Regions from separate parts of the Homo sapiens genome. Here regions 2, 3, 4, 5 and 6 are each linked to region 1. Evidence: promoter capture Hi-C in 16 types of primary human blood cells and fetal thymus (Javierre and others, 2016). All regions are on one chromosome and are shown on one strand. The core of a region is centred on a gene start or on the middle of the fragment in contact, and the rest is flanking DNA. Distances in the headings are between cores, read along the strand shown.

Evidence for each region. Contacts are between HindIII fragments. The CHiCAGO score rates a contact against its expected background, and 5 or more counts as called.
Region 2: a fragment that was not itself captured here is called in contact with the fragment with the promoter of CNNM3 in region 1 in 17 of 17 cell types (naive CD4 T cells, total B cells, naive B cells and 14 more); the score reaches 9.9 in naive CD4 T cells.
Region 3: a contact is called between a fragment that was not itself captured here and the fragment with the promoter of CNNM3 in region 1, in 1 of 17 cell types (neutrophils). The highest score is 5.6, in neutrophils.
Region 4: a fragment that was not itself captured here is called in contact with the fragment with the promoter of CNNM3 in region 1 in 7 of 17 cell types (non-activated CD4 T cells, naive CD8 T cells, total CD4 T cells and 4 more); the score reaches 7.9 in non-activated CD4 T cells.
Region 5: a contact is called between a fragment that was not itself captured here and the fragment with the promoter of CNNM3 in region 1, in 13 of 17 cell types (M1 macrophages, M2 macrophages, total CD8 T cells and 10 more). The highest score is 10.2, in M1 macrophages.
Region 6: a fragment that was not itself captured here is called in contact with the fragment with the promoter of CNNM3 in region 1 in 17 of 17 cell types (M2 macrophages, M1 macrophages, neutrophils and 14 more); the score reaches 13.6 in M2 macrophages.

What each region holds. Positions count from the first base shown.
Region 1 is chr2:96,814,975-96,817,674 of GRCh38, reverse strand. CNNM3 (cyclin and CBS domain divalent metal cation transport mediator 3) reads right to left here and starts at 1,407. Exons shown (of 8, transcript NM_017623.5): 1 at 173-1,407. The coding sequence starts at 1,397. RefSeq lists silencers at 551-660, 671-810, 821-1,800 and an enhancer at 2,141-2,260. The HindIII fragment of the contact is 9,370 bases long and covers 1-2,700 here.
Region 2 is chr2:96,628,958-96,631,657 of GRCh38, reverse strand. KANSL3 (KAT8 regulatory NSL complex subunit 3) reads left to right here. Exons shown (of 21, transcript NM_001115016.3): 3 at 176-346. Among named protein-coding and RNA genes, the nearest start is that of KANSL3, 8.0 kb to the left of the region's middle. The HindIII fragment of the contact is 1,114 bases long and covers 877-1,990 here.
Region 3 is chr2:96,684,830-96,687,529 of GRCh38, reverse strand. FER1L5 (fer-1 like family member 5) reads right to left here. Exons shown (of 53, transcript NM_001293083.2): 21 at 2,101-2,201; 22 at 1,413-1,590; 23 at 1,180-1,335. Among named protein-coding and RNA genes, the nearest start is that of FER1L5, 43 kb to the right of the region's middle. RefSeq lists an enhancer at 887-1,612. The HindIII fragment of the contact is 6,129 bases long and covers 1-2,700 here.
Region 4 is chr2:96,997,540-97,000,239 of GRCh38, reverse strand. No RefSeq gene overlaps it. Among named protein-coding and RNA genes, the nearest start is that of FAM178B, 12 kb to the right of the region's middle. The HindIII fragment of the contact is 4,040 bases long and covers 1-2,700 here.
Region 5 is chr2:96,581,950-96,584,649 of GRCh38, reverse strand. It overlaps a transcript of KANSL3 not described here. Among named protein-coding and RNA genes, the nearest start is that of ARID5A, 47 kb to the right of the region's middle. The HindIII fragment of the contact is 3,643 bases long and covers 1-2,700 here.
Region 6 is chr2:96,562,908-96,565,607 of GRCh38, reverse strand. No RefSeq gene overlaps it. Among named protein-coding and RNA genes, the nearest start is that of ARID5A, 28 kb to the right of the region's middle. RefSeq lists enhancers at 229-729, 800-1,300. The HindIII fragment of the contact is 4,621 bases long and covers 1-2,700 here.

The sequences.
Region 1 (2,700 bases), core at 158-2,657:
CAAAAGGTCATTCCAAGCTGCAAGGCCAATACCGTCTTGAAAAGGGACCTTAGAGGTCTCACTGCTCTCCACAGGGGTGGGACCCTTTCCAGAAGGCTTCCATAACTCTCCACCCCTTTTCAGGGAGAGGGCACTCGCACGGGCGTCCCCTGCACCATGCCCGGGCCGTTACCTCGCTTGAATTCCTCCAGGACAGCGTCCAGCTTGGTGTCGTTGAAGACGAAGTGGAGCGGATGGTTGTAGAAACGAGTGATGGTGCTGAGCGGCGTGCAGTCTTCGGGATCCACGAAGGCCAAGTCCTTGAGGTAGAGCATGTCCACGATGTTGGAGCGCTCCTCCTCGTACACCGGGATGCGCGTGTGGCCGCTCTGCATGATGCTGGCCAGGACGCCGAAGTCCAGCACGGTGCTGGCGTCCAGCATGAAGCAGTCTTCGAGGGGCGTGAGCACGTCCTCCACGGTCCGGCAGCGCAGCACGCCCTTGCTGAGATCGCTGTAGGGGTCGCCGCCGCCGCGCGCCAGCTCCAGCACCCGCTCCCGCAGCCGCCCGGGCCGCGCCGCCAGCTCCAGCAGCTGCCCCACGGGCAGCGCGACGGGCAGAGTGAGCAGGACGGCCAGGCGGCTGAGGCCGAGCGCTCGCGGCGCCAGCGCCAGCGTCCAGCGCCCGCTCACGGCGGCCGGCACCACCTCTCCCACCAGGAACACGAGCCCCGCGCTGCCCAACACGGCGGGCACCGCACGCTGGCCGGCCGCGCGGTACAGCAGCACCGCCAGCGCCGCCTGCGCCAGGCTGGCCAGCAGCAGCAGCGCGCCCAAGGCGCAGCCGGCCCAGCGCCGCGCGGGCTCCAAACGCCGCGCCGCCGCACGCTCCGCCTCCGAGCCGCTCTCGCGCAGCACCTGCACCTCGGCAGGCGCCAGCGCCAGCGCGCTCAGCTGCAGGCCTCGCGCCAGCGCTGCCAGCGCCAGCAGCCCGGCCGCCCCCAGGCCCAGAGCCCAGGGCGGCGCCGCCTCCTCAGCCGCCCCGCCACCCGGCTCCACGCGCACCGCCAGCAGCGCCGAGTGCGGGCGCACGGCCTCGGCCCGCAGGCGCAAGCGCAGCAGCGCGCGCCACTCGCCCGCGGGGGAGGCCGCCTCCTCCCGGCAGCCCGCCCCCTCCGGGGCCACCCAGGACCAAGAGCTGTTGGCGAAGCCCGGGCCGAAGAGGCGCAGGAGGAAGGTGGCGTCCGGCGTGTCCCGCGCCGCCCCTCCGCGTACCCAACCCGCGCCCGCCGCTCCATCCTCCTCCAGGCAGAAGCCCAGCACTCGCGGGCCCGGCGCGGCCTCCCCCGCGGCGTTGCCCAGGCAGAGCGCGGCGAACAACCAGCCTAACCGACCCGCCGCAGCTACCGCCGCCGCCATCGCCTGCTGCCCCCTCTCGGCCTCTCGCGCAGCCTACCCCGCTCGCCCCGCGCCTCCCCGGGCCAATCGTTACGGCTCTTCGCGCCTCCTCGGCCAATAGGCGGTGGGCGGGGGCGGGCCCCAGGGTCGGACTAGGCTGCGCCGGGGAGTAAACAAGTGGCGGCCAGGGGCGGGCCGGGGGCGTGGGGCTCCGGGCCCCGCCGAGTCTGCTGCGGCTCCGGATGCGCGGGGTGGCAGTGGCCGGGAGGACGCGGGGCGGCGGGCAGGGCCTCCCAAGCCCGGCTGTCCTCGGCCCGTGCGCGGCGCCCGGAGTCCCACTCCTCCCGATGCTGTCCCCCGCGCCCGGAGGCCGAGCCAATTCTCTGGGAAGTTCCCGGCTTGGGAGCGGAGCGGCCGGTCGGAAGAACCTCGGGTGCTGGCGCGCCTGAAGTTGCAGACCAGACTGAAATGTGCGAGACATGTGCCTTTTTCTTAGGAAAGGCCCCAGGTACCAGAAAGGTTTTCAGCGCGCCGACCTACGGGGCTAAGAGGGCTGAAATAAGAACCAGTGACTGAGCGCCGGGAGGTTTAAGGTTTATGGAAGATGTTCATCGCGCCGTACCCTACTAGAGGTTTGGGGACGTGGGACACAGCCCCTGCGTTCCCGCCGCGGACCCCGTGATAAATACACAGACACACAAAATCACTACCGCCTTGAATCTGGACAGCTACCTCAGGTGGTTAATATCTAACAGGAGCAGAGTGGAGCTCAGAAAGACTCAGCGTGGGTGCTGGGTTCCGGCGCGACCAGCCTGATACCTAGGTCAGCATCTCAGCCACACAAGCAGGCGGCAGTTCTGTCAGGAATTACTACATCTGGTGATTCCACTTCTCATAGCTCACCGCTGGGAGAATAATTCCTCAGGATTAACAAGATCTATTCCAGAGGATCCTCACTGCTGAAGCGATTTTAGAAGACAGTGTGGTCTGTTGACAGTATGGAATATTCTTTACCCATCAGATATGATCTGTATGTGATTGGAAGGAAATAAACCAACTGCTAACAACACTTCTCTATAGATGTTCAGATTCAGTAATTTTTGTATTTTTCTCTACACTTTTGTTTTTTCAAATTTCCTAGCACAAGAAGACTTTGACTTACTGCACATGTCATTTTAAATGACCTTTATAAAGACTCTATAGAAACAATTTGCTATGTCATGAAAGTAACAATCAAAAAAAGTATGCACATTGTGGCCACAAAGTAAAACTTGTGTGGAAGGTAATGTGCAAAAAAAAAAAAAAATGAGTAAGCTGGTGGTGA
Region 2 (2,700 bases), core at 184-2,683, 190 kb after region 1:
AGATCTAGACAAGTGTGGGAAAGATGACTTTGGATCAAAATTTTCTTGTGAATATAATGTGCTTATGCGTAATTTAAAGCTGACTGTATTAAAGATACATTTTTTGTCAACCAGATGATTGTTAAATACCTGTGAAGTATGTGTGGCCCGGTCCTATTTCCTCACCTGTTTACAGTGAATCAGACGTCCCAATAGATGTGGAGACGGTCACATCAACGCCTATGCCACTCTATGACAATCAGAAGGCACGCAGCGTGATGAATGAGTGTGAACGGCATGTCATCTTTGCCAGGACTGATGCAGATGCCCCTCCTCCACCAGAGGACTGGGAGGAGCATGTCAACAGGTAGGCTGCTCATCAGGAGGATGATCACTGCCCTGTAATTATTTTGTATCATCTTCATTGAAATAACACTTATTAGGACCTTATTTCATTTGCAGCAACACAAGTCAGAGTGTTCTCCAAAGTCTCACATTATAACTCTCAGTTCACCATGCTGTGTGTGAGCTCCTTGAGAGTAGGGCTTACATCTCAGCCATCTTTGCATACTTCACACTAGGACGTTGTCTGGCACACAGTAGGCATATAATGTTTGTTGAATAAATAAGTGAATTAAATTTGATACATATGACTAGCTCTGTAGTAGCTTCTGTTGTATAAGTTATGATATAGGGGTTACCCAAACTGCAAAAAAATGAAATGTACATTTGTAAGATATTGTGTTTAAATGGTTTATAACTAGGATGATGGAAGTTGTGAAGTCACATGAAAAGCTAACAGATGTTTGAGTGGCTTTTAAAAATAGATTTGCAGGCTATGGAGGGCACACTGAAGCCTATTTTCACGAGTATACTGGCTAGTTTTGTTCCCAAGCTTTCTACTGCCCCCAGGGGACTCAGCACTCCTCTCCTGGTTATTTGTCCCTGTTCATTTGGTAAACATTTACCTAATTACATAACAGCTTTTTGGGGATATTATTTACATACCATACAATTCAGCTATTTAATATGTACAGTCATTGGTTTTTAGTATAGTCAGAGTTGTATATTCATCACCACTATCAATTTGATAAACATTTTCATCATCCTAAAAAGAAACCTCTTACCCATAAACAGTTACTTCCCGTTTCCTCCCAGCTTCTCTGGTCCCTAGGAAGCACTAATTGACTTTTGTCTTTATAGATTTGCCTATTCTGGACATTTCATATAAATGGAATCATGCAATATGTGGTCTTTTCCTACTGGCTTCTTTCACCCAGCATGATGTTTTCAAGGTTTATCCATGTGGTTGCGTGTATCAGCACTTCATGCTTTTTATTGCCAAATGACATTACATTGTATGGATAGCCCACATTTTATTTATTCATTAATCAGTTGATAGATATTTAGATTGTTTTCATTTTTTGGCAATTGTGAATAATGCTATTATGAACATTTGCATACAAGTTTTTGTGTGGATCTAAGTTTTTAATTCTCTTAGTTATATACCTGGGAGTGGACTTGTTGGGTCATATGATAACTCTGTATTTAACCTTTGAGGAATTGCCAGACTGTTTTCCAAAGTGGCTGTACCATTTTACATTCCTACCAGCAGTGTATGAGAGTTCTAGTTTCTCCATATCCTTGCCAACACTTACTGATTTTCTTCTTTTTTAAAAAAATTATAACCATTCTACTGCGTGTAAAGTGGCATCTCATTGTGGTTTCAACTTATATTTTGTTGATGGCTTTTTGTCTGTGTATCCATATATCTACTATATATATAAGGAAATGTTACTTCTTATATCAGGAGTTGGTAGGTGGTAACTTTCCATAATTTTGGAGAACCCTTATTTTATAATAGAGAGAAAGAGGGGTAGAAAGTTTGAGGTGATTGACATGACTTCTGAAGCTGGTTGGAAGTTGGGAATGAGATTGAACAGGTGTGCTTGTGTGATCAAAACAGCAGCTGTTGAGGGAGGAGCAGTTCTGCACCTTGGTTGAAAAAGCTTGTGAAGAAGTTGGTTGGGGTCTTGCATTGGAATTAATTTAGTGCCTTAAGAAGCTCTTTTCTCACGCCTGTAATCCCAGTACTTTGGGAGGTTGAGGCGGGTGGATCACCTGAGGTCGGGAGTTCAAGACCAGCCTGACCAACATGGAGAAACTCTGTCTCTGCTAAAAATACAAAATTAGCTGGGTGTGGTGGCGCATGCCTGTAATCCCAGCTACTCGGGAGGCTGAGGCAGGAGAATCACTTGAACCTGGGAGGCGGAGGTTGTGGTGAGCCGAGATCGTGCCATTGCACTCCAGTCTGGGCACCAAGAGTGAAACACCATCTCAAAAAAAGAAAAAAAAGCTCTTTTGAGCTTCAGATAAAGAAGAAAACTGCTACGAATGAAGATCAACTACTGGAATATTGCTAGAGTCAGTATATTCAGCAAAAGGATTTATCACTATTTTTACAGTTAATAATAAAAAATAACGACGATGGTAATAACAAAAAGGAGCTACCGTTTGTTGAGTGCTTTCTAGGTGCCAGACATTGTATCAATGTCTCTTCAAATGCATTGTCTCTTAATCCTCCCAATGACTCTTGGAGGTATATCCCCCCTTCATCTCTGCTCAACAGGATGAAGAAACTGAGCTCAGGGTGTTTAAGAAACCTTAATTAGGAAGTGATGGAGAAGGATTTTGTTCAAACCAAGCAGCCTGACTCCAGAA
Region 3 (2,700 bases), core at 149-2,648, 130 kb after region 1:
GTTATGGGCTGGCACTGTGCCAGTTGCCCAGTGTGCATCATAGTCCTGGATCCTCACACCCCACCATGAGAGGGCATGGTGATTGCCAGGCCCATTCTACAGAGCAGCATGCTGAGGGCTGGGCATGGCCAGGAGTTGGCCTAGGGCCACACAGAGCCAGGATTCATGTCTCAGGGGCTCTTGCGGGATGCGAAGGACTCTGGTGGTCATGGAAGGAGCCTTGCGTGTTGGTGGAGAGGGCAAAGGGCAGGTACAGTTGGGGCCAGGAAAGCCCAGAGTGTCCTTACTGTTGAGAGTATGGGCCAGAGAGAATGGATGCAGGAACAGGGGCCAGGGGCCAGGTGGCAAGGCGGCACCTTCTCCAGGAGGCAGTGGGGAGCCAGGGAGTCTCTGAAGGGGGAGGGAGTGGCCCCCACGTCCCCCCAGGGAGGATTAGAAGCAGGGAGGCCACTGTCACAGCCAGGGGTGGGGGTGGTGGTCAGGGTGTTTAGTCTTATTTATAGCTTGCATCTGATATGATGGGCTGGTACCAAACCTTATAGACATTAAATATTTTGGAGATCACCCCGTCACGGTCCAGGGAAGAGATGACAAGGGGCTGGACCAAATGGTGGCCATGAGGATGATAGAGGAGGTGGATTTGTTTTCTGTTTTTTTTTTTTTTTTTTTTTTTTGAGACGGAGTCTCGCTCTGTCACCCAGGCTGGAACAGTGTCACGATCTCAGCTCACTGCAACCTCCGTCTCCCAGGTTCAAGCGATTCTCCTGCCTCAGCCTCCCATGTAGCTAGGATTACAAGCATGCGCCACCATGCCCAGCTAATTTTTTTGTATTTTTAGTGGAGACGGGGTTTCACCAAGTTGGTCAGGCTGGGTCTCAAACTCCTGACCTCAGGTGATCCACCCGCCTCAGCCTCCCAAAGTGCTGGGATTACCTGTGAGCCACCGTGCCCAGCGAGGAGGTGGATTTGGGGAACATTTAGGAGGTACATGGACTTGGCATCACCCAACATGCTGACAGCCACAGACCCCTCTCTTCCTCTGGGGACTGTTTCAACCCCATTCCATGTGGTTAAGGGACCAGGAAAACAGGCCCCATAGGGGCTGCCCTGCGAGTTCAGGGGGCTCCCCTGGGGGCATTTCTCAGCCCTGTCCTCCCCTGAGGAGTCCCTGATTCCCACCTGTAGGAAGAGTGTCTGTATCTTCCCACAGAGCCTGCCGGAGTGCAGAGCCCCTGCCGGGGAGAAGAGGACGGAGTGGGCAGGCACCTGTGCATAGGCCACTCGCTGCTCCTTGGCCACCAGCCAAATCATCACGTCAGGGAGGCCCATCTGGGGCTGCCGAGGTGGGAGAATGTCAGGCCCTGCGCGGCTGGCTCCCAGCCCTGCTGCAGGCCAGTGTGTGCAGCACCCACCTCAGGGAGCACGGTGTTGAGGCGGTACAGCCAGTCCTCCGCTGTGGCCACCATGTCCTTGGGCTTGGCTTGCTTGGCCTTTTGGGCCAGTTCCTGCAGGAGGAGGCTGCGGAGCTGCCACCTCTTCCTGTCCAGGCTGGTGGCTTTGGGCTGATAGGTCATGCAGGGCAGAGGGCGCCTGTGGCCAGGACAGGGTAGCAGGGGCTGGACCTCTCTACTGCCTCCCAGTGTCACCATTCCTGCCCTGCCTTAGGCCAGCGTGCCCCTCCTGGCCTCAAGATCCTGCCCCCATCTGCTGCTAGCCTGGCCCAGGAGCCCTTCCCACTGCTCCATAGGAAGCCTGCTCGCTGTGTGTCCAGCCCTGGGTTCTCATCCAGTCCTCTCCCTTCCTCCCAGGGCCTGCAGGGAGGTGGGGCTATGTGGGCTTGTCTGGAGGAAGAGGACAGGCTGGCTTAAGAGGAGCCTCGGGTGTGGGTGTGGGGTAGCAGGGACCATTCTGATGGGGCGGTCAGGGGGCCTGAATGGGAAGGGAGAAGCGACTCTTGGGGTTTCCCGCTGGGGAGAGGTCTGAGCAGTGCTCCTCCCCGAGGAGGGCGGGGGGAGGTGTTCAGGGCACTGCGCTGAGTCCCCAGGCCCAGATCTGGCTCAGCTCCAGGCCAGCTGTATCCCGGAGTGCCCCTACTCCTACTTGCAGTCCTCTGCCAGCTCCCTCAGCAGTTTCTCCCACTGGTAGAGGAGAGCTGGATCCTTCGGATTCCGCGTGGATTTCAGGGTGTCCAGGTTGGCTTTCTGCCCAGCAGGAGAGAAATGGTGAGAGAGCCCGCCTCAGCATGGAGCCCAGCTGGACAGGCCACAGGGCTGATTGGCCCAAGATGTTTTCAGCCACGACCTTGGGAACTTTGAGGGATAACCTGGTGATATCAGTTCAAGGTTGTCCACAACTCCGAGGCTAGGAACCCCCCACATCCTTCCTGCTTCCCAACAGAAGAAACAGGTGGCAAGAAGCCGGGATGGGGTAAGACTGGGAAAGCAGTGCAGAGCCCTGACCTCCACATAGGCATGAGAAAGTCATGCCAGAGGTGCCAGCCCCAGGTGGCTCCCGAGAACTACACTCCCAACAGGCACTTGAGACAGTTTCTGATCTCACTCCTTCCAGCTTCTATGGTCTTATCTTCATGTCACCTCCATGCCTCCCCCAGATCCTGCCGAACTTCAGAAACCAGCACATTGCCGCGGCTTTGCAGGTTATTCCCTTCTACCCCCACCCAGCCCCCAACAAAATCCTATG
Region 4 (2,700 bases), core at 76-2,575, 180 kb before region 1:
AGGCTGAAGTGGGAGGGTTCCTTGAGCCCAGGAGGTCTAGGTTGCAGTGAACTGTGATTATGCCACTGCACTGCAGCCTGGGCAACAAAGTAAGACCCTGCCTCAAAAAAAAAAAAAAAAAGGCTCGTAATCATTTCTTTTTTTTTTTCTTTTTTTTTCTTTTTCTTTTTTTGAGACAGAGTCTCGCCCTGTTGCCCAGTCTGGAGGGCAGTGACACGATCTCAGCTTACTGCAACATCTGCCTCCCGGTTTCAAGTCATTCTCCTGCCTCAGCCTCCGGAGTAGCTGGGATTACAGGCACCTGCCACCATGCCCAGCTAATTTTTGTATTTTTAGTAGAGACGGGGTTTCACCATGTTGGCCAGGCTGGCCTCGAACTCCTGACCTCAGGTGATCCACCTGCCTTGGCCTCCCAAAGTGCTGGGATTACAGGTGTGAGCCACCGCACCCAGCTTTCATTGTAACTATTTCTATTTATTTATTTATTTATTTATTGAGACAAAGTTTCGCTCTTATTGCCCAGGCTGGAGTGCAATGGGGTGATATCATCTCACTGCAACCTCCACCTCCTGGGTTCAAGCGATTCTCCTGCCTCAGCCTCCCCAGTAGCTGGAAGTGCAGGCATGCGCCCCCACGCCCAGCTAATTTTTTGTATTTTTAGTAGAGATGGGGTTTCTTCATGGTGGTCAGGCTGGTCTCAAACTCCCGAAGTCAGGTGATCCACCCGCCTCAGCCTCCCAAAGTGCTAGGATTACAGGGATGAGCCATTGCGTCTGGCCCATTGGAACTTTTCCTTTCTTTCCTTTCTTTCCTCTTTTTCCTCTCTTTCTCTCTTTCTTTCTTTCTGACGGAGTCTCCCTCTGTCTCCCAGGCTGGAGTGCGGTGGCGCCATCGGCTCACTGCAAGCTCCGCCTCCCGAGTTCACGCCGTTCTCCTGCCTCAGCCTCCTGAGTAGCTGGCACTATAGGCGCCCGCCACCACGCCCGGCTAATTTTTGTGTGTGTGTGTATTTTTTAGTAGAGACGGGGTTTCACCGTGTTAGCCAGGATGGTCTCAATCTCCTGACCTCGTGATCCACCCGCCTCGGCCTCCCAAAGTGCTGGGATTACAGGCGTGAGCCACCGTGCCCGGCCAGAGTTTCGCTCTTGTTGCCAGGCTGGAGTGCAATGGCGCGATCTCGGCTCACTGCAACCTCCACTTCCCAGGTTCAAGTGATTCTCCTGCCTCAGCCTCCCGAGTAGCTGGGATTACAAGCAGGCGCCACCACGCCCAGCTAATTTTTGTATTTTTAGTTACTAAAAATACAAAGGATGAAGAGCAGAAGGGAAATCCCCAAATTCAAGCAAGCACAGAAATCCATGATTGGAGACGGGGTTTCGCCATGTTGGCCAGGATGGTCTCAATCTCTTGACCTCGTGATCCGCCCGCCTCTGCCTCCCAAAGTGCTGGGATTACAGGCGTGAGCCACCGTGCCCAGCCCATTGTAACCATTTCTATATGTACGTTTAAAAATGTCCTTTGGAGACTTAGAACTTCCAAATTATTTATTTTTTTACATAAGGGCACTTAAATGAAAGGTGATTAAAAAGACATCTCTCCGGCCGGGTGCGGTGGCTCGGGCCTGTAATCCCAGCACTTTGGGAGACCGAGGTGGGCAGATCACGAGGTCAGGAGATCCAGACCATCCTGGCTAACACAGTGAAACCAGGTCTCTACTAGAAATACAAAAAAATTAGCCAGGCGTGGTGGTGGGCGCCTGTAGTCACAGCTGCTCAGGAGGCTGAGGTAGGAGAATGGCGTGAACCCAGGAGGCGGAGCTTGCAGTGAGCCGAGATCTCCCCACTGCACTCCAGCCTGGGCGACAGAGGGAGACTCTGTCTCAAAAAAAAAGTCTCTCCTACATTGCTGTCTGCAAAACATCAGATGTTACGGATGTTAGACTGCATCTCAATGGTAAATCTTCACTGACAGGTTTACTTACATCAATCATGAAAATTCTGTTTGTAGGCTGGGTACGGTGGCTCATGCCTGTAATCCCAACACTTTGGGAGGCCGAGGCAGGCTGATCATGAGGTCAGGAATTTGAGAACAGCCTGGCCAACATGGCAAAACCGCATCACTACTAAAATCACAAACATTAGCTGGGCATGGTGGTGAGCACTTGTAATCCCAGCTACTAGGGAAGCTGAGTCAGGAGAATTCCTTGAACCTGGGAGGTGGAGGTTGCAGTGAGTGGAGATGGCGCCACTGCACTCCAGCCTGGTCAACAGAGTGAGACTGTCTCAAAAAAAAAAAAAGAGAGAGAAAATTCTGTCAATACAGAAGTGAATTGTGGACGTAAAATGGTCATGCCATTTGGTTAATGGCACTAGGCAGCATTCATACAACAACTAATGACAAAAATTCACAGCTAGTGATATATAAAATAAAGTATTTTTGCAGTAAACAAACAAAATTGGCATGGCTTCCAGCTGAGCTCACCTTCACCCCACTCACCTTGTAAATGGGGTCATCCTCTGAGTTAACACAGTGGAATCCCCCTCCCGTCTCTCTCTCATGTCTGTCGGTTCTTCCCCAGCAATAGTCCCTGGAGTGGCCCCTATTAAGGGCCTTGACATCCACTCCCACACTCAATTTTACAACCACCTCCTTTGGGACTCCCTGTTTCGCACCCCTCCTGTCTCTGGCCTCTGTTCCTTG
Region 5 (2,700 bases), core at 65-2,564, 230 kb after region 1:
TAAGTCTGGACAGAAAAATACTGCGTGTTCTCACCCACAGGTAGGAGCTAAAAAAGCTGATCTTATAGAAGTAGGGAGTGTAGGTGGGATGAATAACTTCTAGTGTTCTATAACACTATAGGCTGACTATAATTAACAATTTATTATAGATTTTCAAATTCCTAGAAAACCAGATTTTGAATGTTCCCAGGATAAAGAAATGAGAAATGTTTTGAGGTGCTGGATATGCCAATTATCCTGATTTGATCATTACACATTGTATACACGCTTTGAAATATTGTACTCTGCCCCATAAATACATACAATTATATGCCAGTTAAAAATAATAAAAGCTGGCCGAGTGCAGTGGCTCATGCCTGTAATCTAAGCAATTTGGGAGGCTGAGGTGGGAGTATCTCTTGAGCCCAGGAATTCAAGGCTGCAGGGCACCATGAGTCACCACTGCACTCCAGCCTGTGCAAGAGCGTCTCTAAAAATAAAAGTGAAAAAAGAATAGACACACCACAGACTCAGATAAAATGTTTGTAATATGTATTTGACCGAGGACACACATATAACCAGAATACATAAAAGAATTACTACAAATCATGATTTAAATGTAATAAATATTTGCAGGCTTAAATAGAGACATTCCACAAGAAGATATCCAAGTAGCCAATGTGCACATGAAAGAGTTTTCAGTATCACTGGTCATGAGTAAAATGCAATATTAAACCAATAAAATACCACTTTACACTCACTAGAATGGCTAAAATTAACAACAATACCGAGTGTTAGCAAGGATAAGGAACACCTGGAACTCTTAGACATTGCTGGTGGTAGTCTATTATAGTAAACCACTTTGAAGAACTGTTTGAGCAATTCCTCTCCTACGTATATACAAAAGAGAAATGATAACTTACGTCCACAAAAGTAGTGACTTCTACAAGTACATTCATAGCAGCTTTATTCATAATAGCCCAAAACTGAAAATAGACTGAATGTCCCTTAATAGGAAAATGGATATACACATTGCAGTATTTTCATATAGTGGAACACTATTTGGTAATGAAAAGAACCACTGACATGCAATGACCTGGATGAATCTCAATAGCATGCTGAATGGCAGAAGCTGGACCCAAAAGACTACACGGTATGATTCCACTGATAGGAAATCCAAATTTGAACAAAACTAGTCTGCGGTTATAGAAGTCAGATCATGATTGAGAGAGACTGTAACCAGAAAGGAGTACAGAGACTTTTTCCGTCGGGGGGAAATGTTCTATATCTTGTTTTGGATGGACATTACAAGGATGTATACAAATGTTGAGACTCAGTTGAGTGAGAAGGGGCCCACATCTGGTAATAGCCAAGTAGCTCCTACCAGACCATTCCATGCACATGTAATAACTATAAATAAAAAAATAGAAAACTTCCCATAAGCTGCTGGAGAGCCACAGAATCAGACAGATAATGGGAAGGTGGGTGACACTTAGATAGAGTAAAACAGTGAATTTTGTTTGTATGGCTTGTAGTCTGAGGGCAAACCATAGTCTGTACCATGCAGAGCAGCTAAAACTCAGAAATGTGCTGCTGTAACCATTCTGTCCAGCTTGCAGAACAAAATAGCAGAGGTTGGGTTGACCATTGCAGCTGGAAAGTGAGGGGATACTCACAGGAAGAAGAGAGTGAGCCTCAGATATTCTGCACACTGTGTCCAAACCTTCCTGTAGCTCCTAAACTACACATGTGTGTGTTAGACTTCCAGCAGTCCAGCTAAGGCTAAAAGAATTGAACTGAAATTTCAGCTGCCTTCAACTGCAGGCAAGCAATATGCAGTTTGAGTCTAGTAAACTTACCTGCCTATTAGCATGAATAATCAGTATTTTTCAGCAACATTATAGAATCCAACATTTTTGGAACATATGATATGTCCAGAATATGATCCCAAATTATTCAGTAAAGAGGCAAATATTACCCATGCTCAAGAGAAAAGGCAATCAATTGAGACTGACCCAGAGATGATGCAGACATTGGAATTAGCAAGCAAGGAATTTAAAGCAGCTCTTAATATTACGCTATAGGATGTAAAGGAAAGTGCTCATAATGAAGAAAGTGGTAAGAAGTACAGAAGAGAAGTCCAAACTAGAAAAAGCCAAATGGAAATTCTGTCACTGGAAAATTAAATACTTGAAATAGAAAATTCAGTGGATGGGCTTAATAGCAGATTGGAAGTTACAAAAGAGTTATTGATTTTCTTCTTTTTTTTTTTTGAGACAGAGTCTTACTCTGTTCCCTAGGTTGGAGTGCAGTGGCACTATCTCCACTCATTGCAACCTCCACCTCCTGGGTTCAAGCGATTCTCCTGCCTTAGCCTCTAGAGTAGCTGGGATTACAGGCGTGTGCCACCATGCCCGGCTAATTTTTGTATTTTTAGTGGAGACGGGGTTTCACCAGCCTTACCATTTGGCCAAGCTGGTCTCAAACTCCTGGCCTCAAGTCATCCGCCCGTCTTGGCCTCCCAAGTGCCGGGATTATAGATGTGAGCCACCGCACCTGGCCGAGTTACTGACTTTTAAAACAAAAACAAGTTATCTGGGGGAGAGAAAAATAAAATTGAAAATAGTGAATAACACCTTAGGGCAATATCAAAAGATCTAATGTACAAATAATTTTTAAAGTCCAAGGACAAGAGGAAAGAGGCCCCCCAAGGAAAATATT
Region 6 (2,700 bases), core at 53-2,552, 250 kb after region 1:
GGGAATGCAGGTTTTTATAGCTTGTCCCTTGGGAAGATGGTACTCAAAATATAGGAAAGGACCAAAATGGGGGCGGTCCAGATGCCCTCAAGGATATTGGGTAGCCATCAGTGACAGACTTGCATCTGGTGTTTCTGATGACCTTCCCTCATTCTCCCTGCCTGTCAATGGAAGCCACTCTCCTAGGGAGGACAGATTTCAGCTCTCTCCCTCGTTCCTGCCCCTCCCTTTCCCTTTCTCTCATGCAAATTCTAATCCCACTCTATCTGATTTAGCATCCCATTGCTTTCTATACAAGCACAGGTTTGACAGGGCCCAACAACGGGGCAGAGAAGCCTGAAAGGGCTGCCTCGTACATGCCAGGCATTGTTTGCATGCAAATGACGGCTAGGTTTTCCCTAGGGAATACCAATCAGATCTGCTTCTTGGTCCTAGTTCTTGAGTGTAGCTGGATCCAAAGCCATCGTCCTGAAAATTCTGGAGTGACTTAAATTCTACACTATGTGGCAAGCCCTCCTCTCCTCATCACAAGTCAGAGGTTCCTGACTTATTGTCTGGAAAGAGTTCTTCCCTTACCTGTGAGCTGGAAGGTGTTCCTTGGCAAAAGTGGTGGAGGATCCAAGATGAAGGACTCGGCAGAAAATCACACACACACACACACACACCCCACCACCACCACCAACAACAAAATACATAAAAAGTGATGGAGGAGAGATTCTGGCCACTAAAGATCAATATCCTTATATTGGCCACAGGGGGGTGATTAGGCTGGCCTGTCAGGTGGCCTTGCTCAGTGCAAGGGCCAGTGAGTCCTCCCACTCATCACTGACTTGGCAGGGGACAAGGCCCAGCCTATCTCCATAGACGTGCCTCTGCTGCCTGGACCCATGGCTGGGGCTCTTGAATGTTCACCATCTGGGACACCTGGATATCTGGCTGATGGTGTTGGAGTGGCAAATGGCAGAAACGACATCTGGCTAGCTTATATCCAAAGAAGGATTTATGAGGAGGATTCTCGGAATTCTCTCCAACTCCAGAAAACATTTAGGATCCTCTGGGATATGCAGGGTCTCCCCGGAGCACAGCGATGACCCTGACTGAGCGCCATTAGTCCAGTTAGATGGTGCCCCTCCCTGGCAGGGGTCGGGTAGTACTGGACCACTCTGGAGATGGCCATGGGCTGGCTACTGCAGCCACAAAGATGTCAGTGATCAAAAGAAGCATTTGATCAGCTGGCCAAGGCTCAGGCATCTGTGTTTGAAGGGGAAGGCGTCAAGGAGTCTGCAACAAGGTTGATGCAAATTCACACAAAACCAGGCACAAAACCTATTGTTGGTCCAGGCTTCCAGACTTGAATGCTACAGCTGGCGGTCACGGCCCAGCCTCGCCCTCCAGGGAACCAGGCAGGAGACATGTCCTAGTGTCATGGGCCTGGGGCCATGTTTCCATGGTGGGCACTGTGGCACTGAGACTGGACCCTGCTTCAGAGGGACAGGGACATCATTCCACCAACCCACTTCTCAAAGTTCTCAATTTGCATAGAAGGCTACTCTCAGGACCTCCCTTCTTCCCAAAAAGGGCAAAGGATGGCCCTGTGTTGTCCCACTGACAAGTGCTGAGAAGCAGCCAGCTTTTCTTTCTGTTTCTCACGACAGTTTGTGTTAGTCTATCCCTGGCATTCTGTGCACAGAGACCAGTGCTTAAAAGGAAAGGAAGGGGATGAAACAAGGGGTTTGGAAAGGAAGAAATATTTACATAGGAGTGATGGTCAAATATGTAATAACTACAATAATCTAAATATAAAATATATATTTTTTATTCTCTAAATAATATAAACACAGTTGACCCTTGAACAACATGGGTTTGAAGCGCTTGGGTCCGCTTATATTTTGATTTTTTTCAAAAGATGTAGTCGGCTCTTGGTATTTACTGATTCCCTATCTGCAAACAAATACAGGTGGAAGATGCAGTATTCTCAAGATGCAAAAACTCGCCTCGTCAGAGGGCAGAATTTTTATATAGGAGGGATCTGCAGGGCAAACTTCTGGACTTGGCCATGCACGGATTTTGGTATGGGGGGAGAGTCCTGGAACCAATTCCCCATGTATACTGAGGGACAACTATTTCTTATAAAACTGCTTGCCAAGTGATGTAAGTTGTAAAACAAACCATTCATCAGATCCCTCTGATCATTTCCAAATCACTCATTGGTTTTCATAAGCTGTTGGTGTGGTCTTTGTTTGACATGGGTGTCCCTAAGTTAGTACGTCCATTTCTGAGCCCACGATGGCATGGGGAGCTGTCCCAGACTTCCATTAAGCTGCTCCTTTTGTGATCTGGTATCAGAAGTCACACACCATCACTTCTGCCTTATTTTATCAGTTCATTAGTTAGATGAGTCACTAATTCCAGCCCACACTCAAGAGGAAGGGAATTAGGCTCCACTTTCTGAAAGGAGTACAAGATTTTGTGGGCATATTTTCCGCTACCACAGTCTGCCTGCTGGCCACAGATTATTTACACCCCTCACTGTATTAGTCTTCTATTTCTGCTCTAATAAATTACCACAAGCCTAGTGACCTAAAACAACACGAATTTATTATATTGCAGTTCTGGAGGTCCGAAGTCCAGTATGGGTCTCACAGCGCTAGAATCAGGTGTCAGTAGGACTGTGTTCCTGCTGGAGGGTCTAGGGGAGAA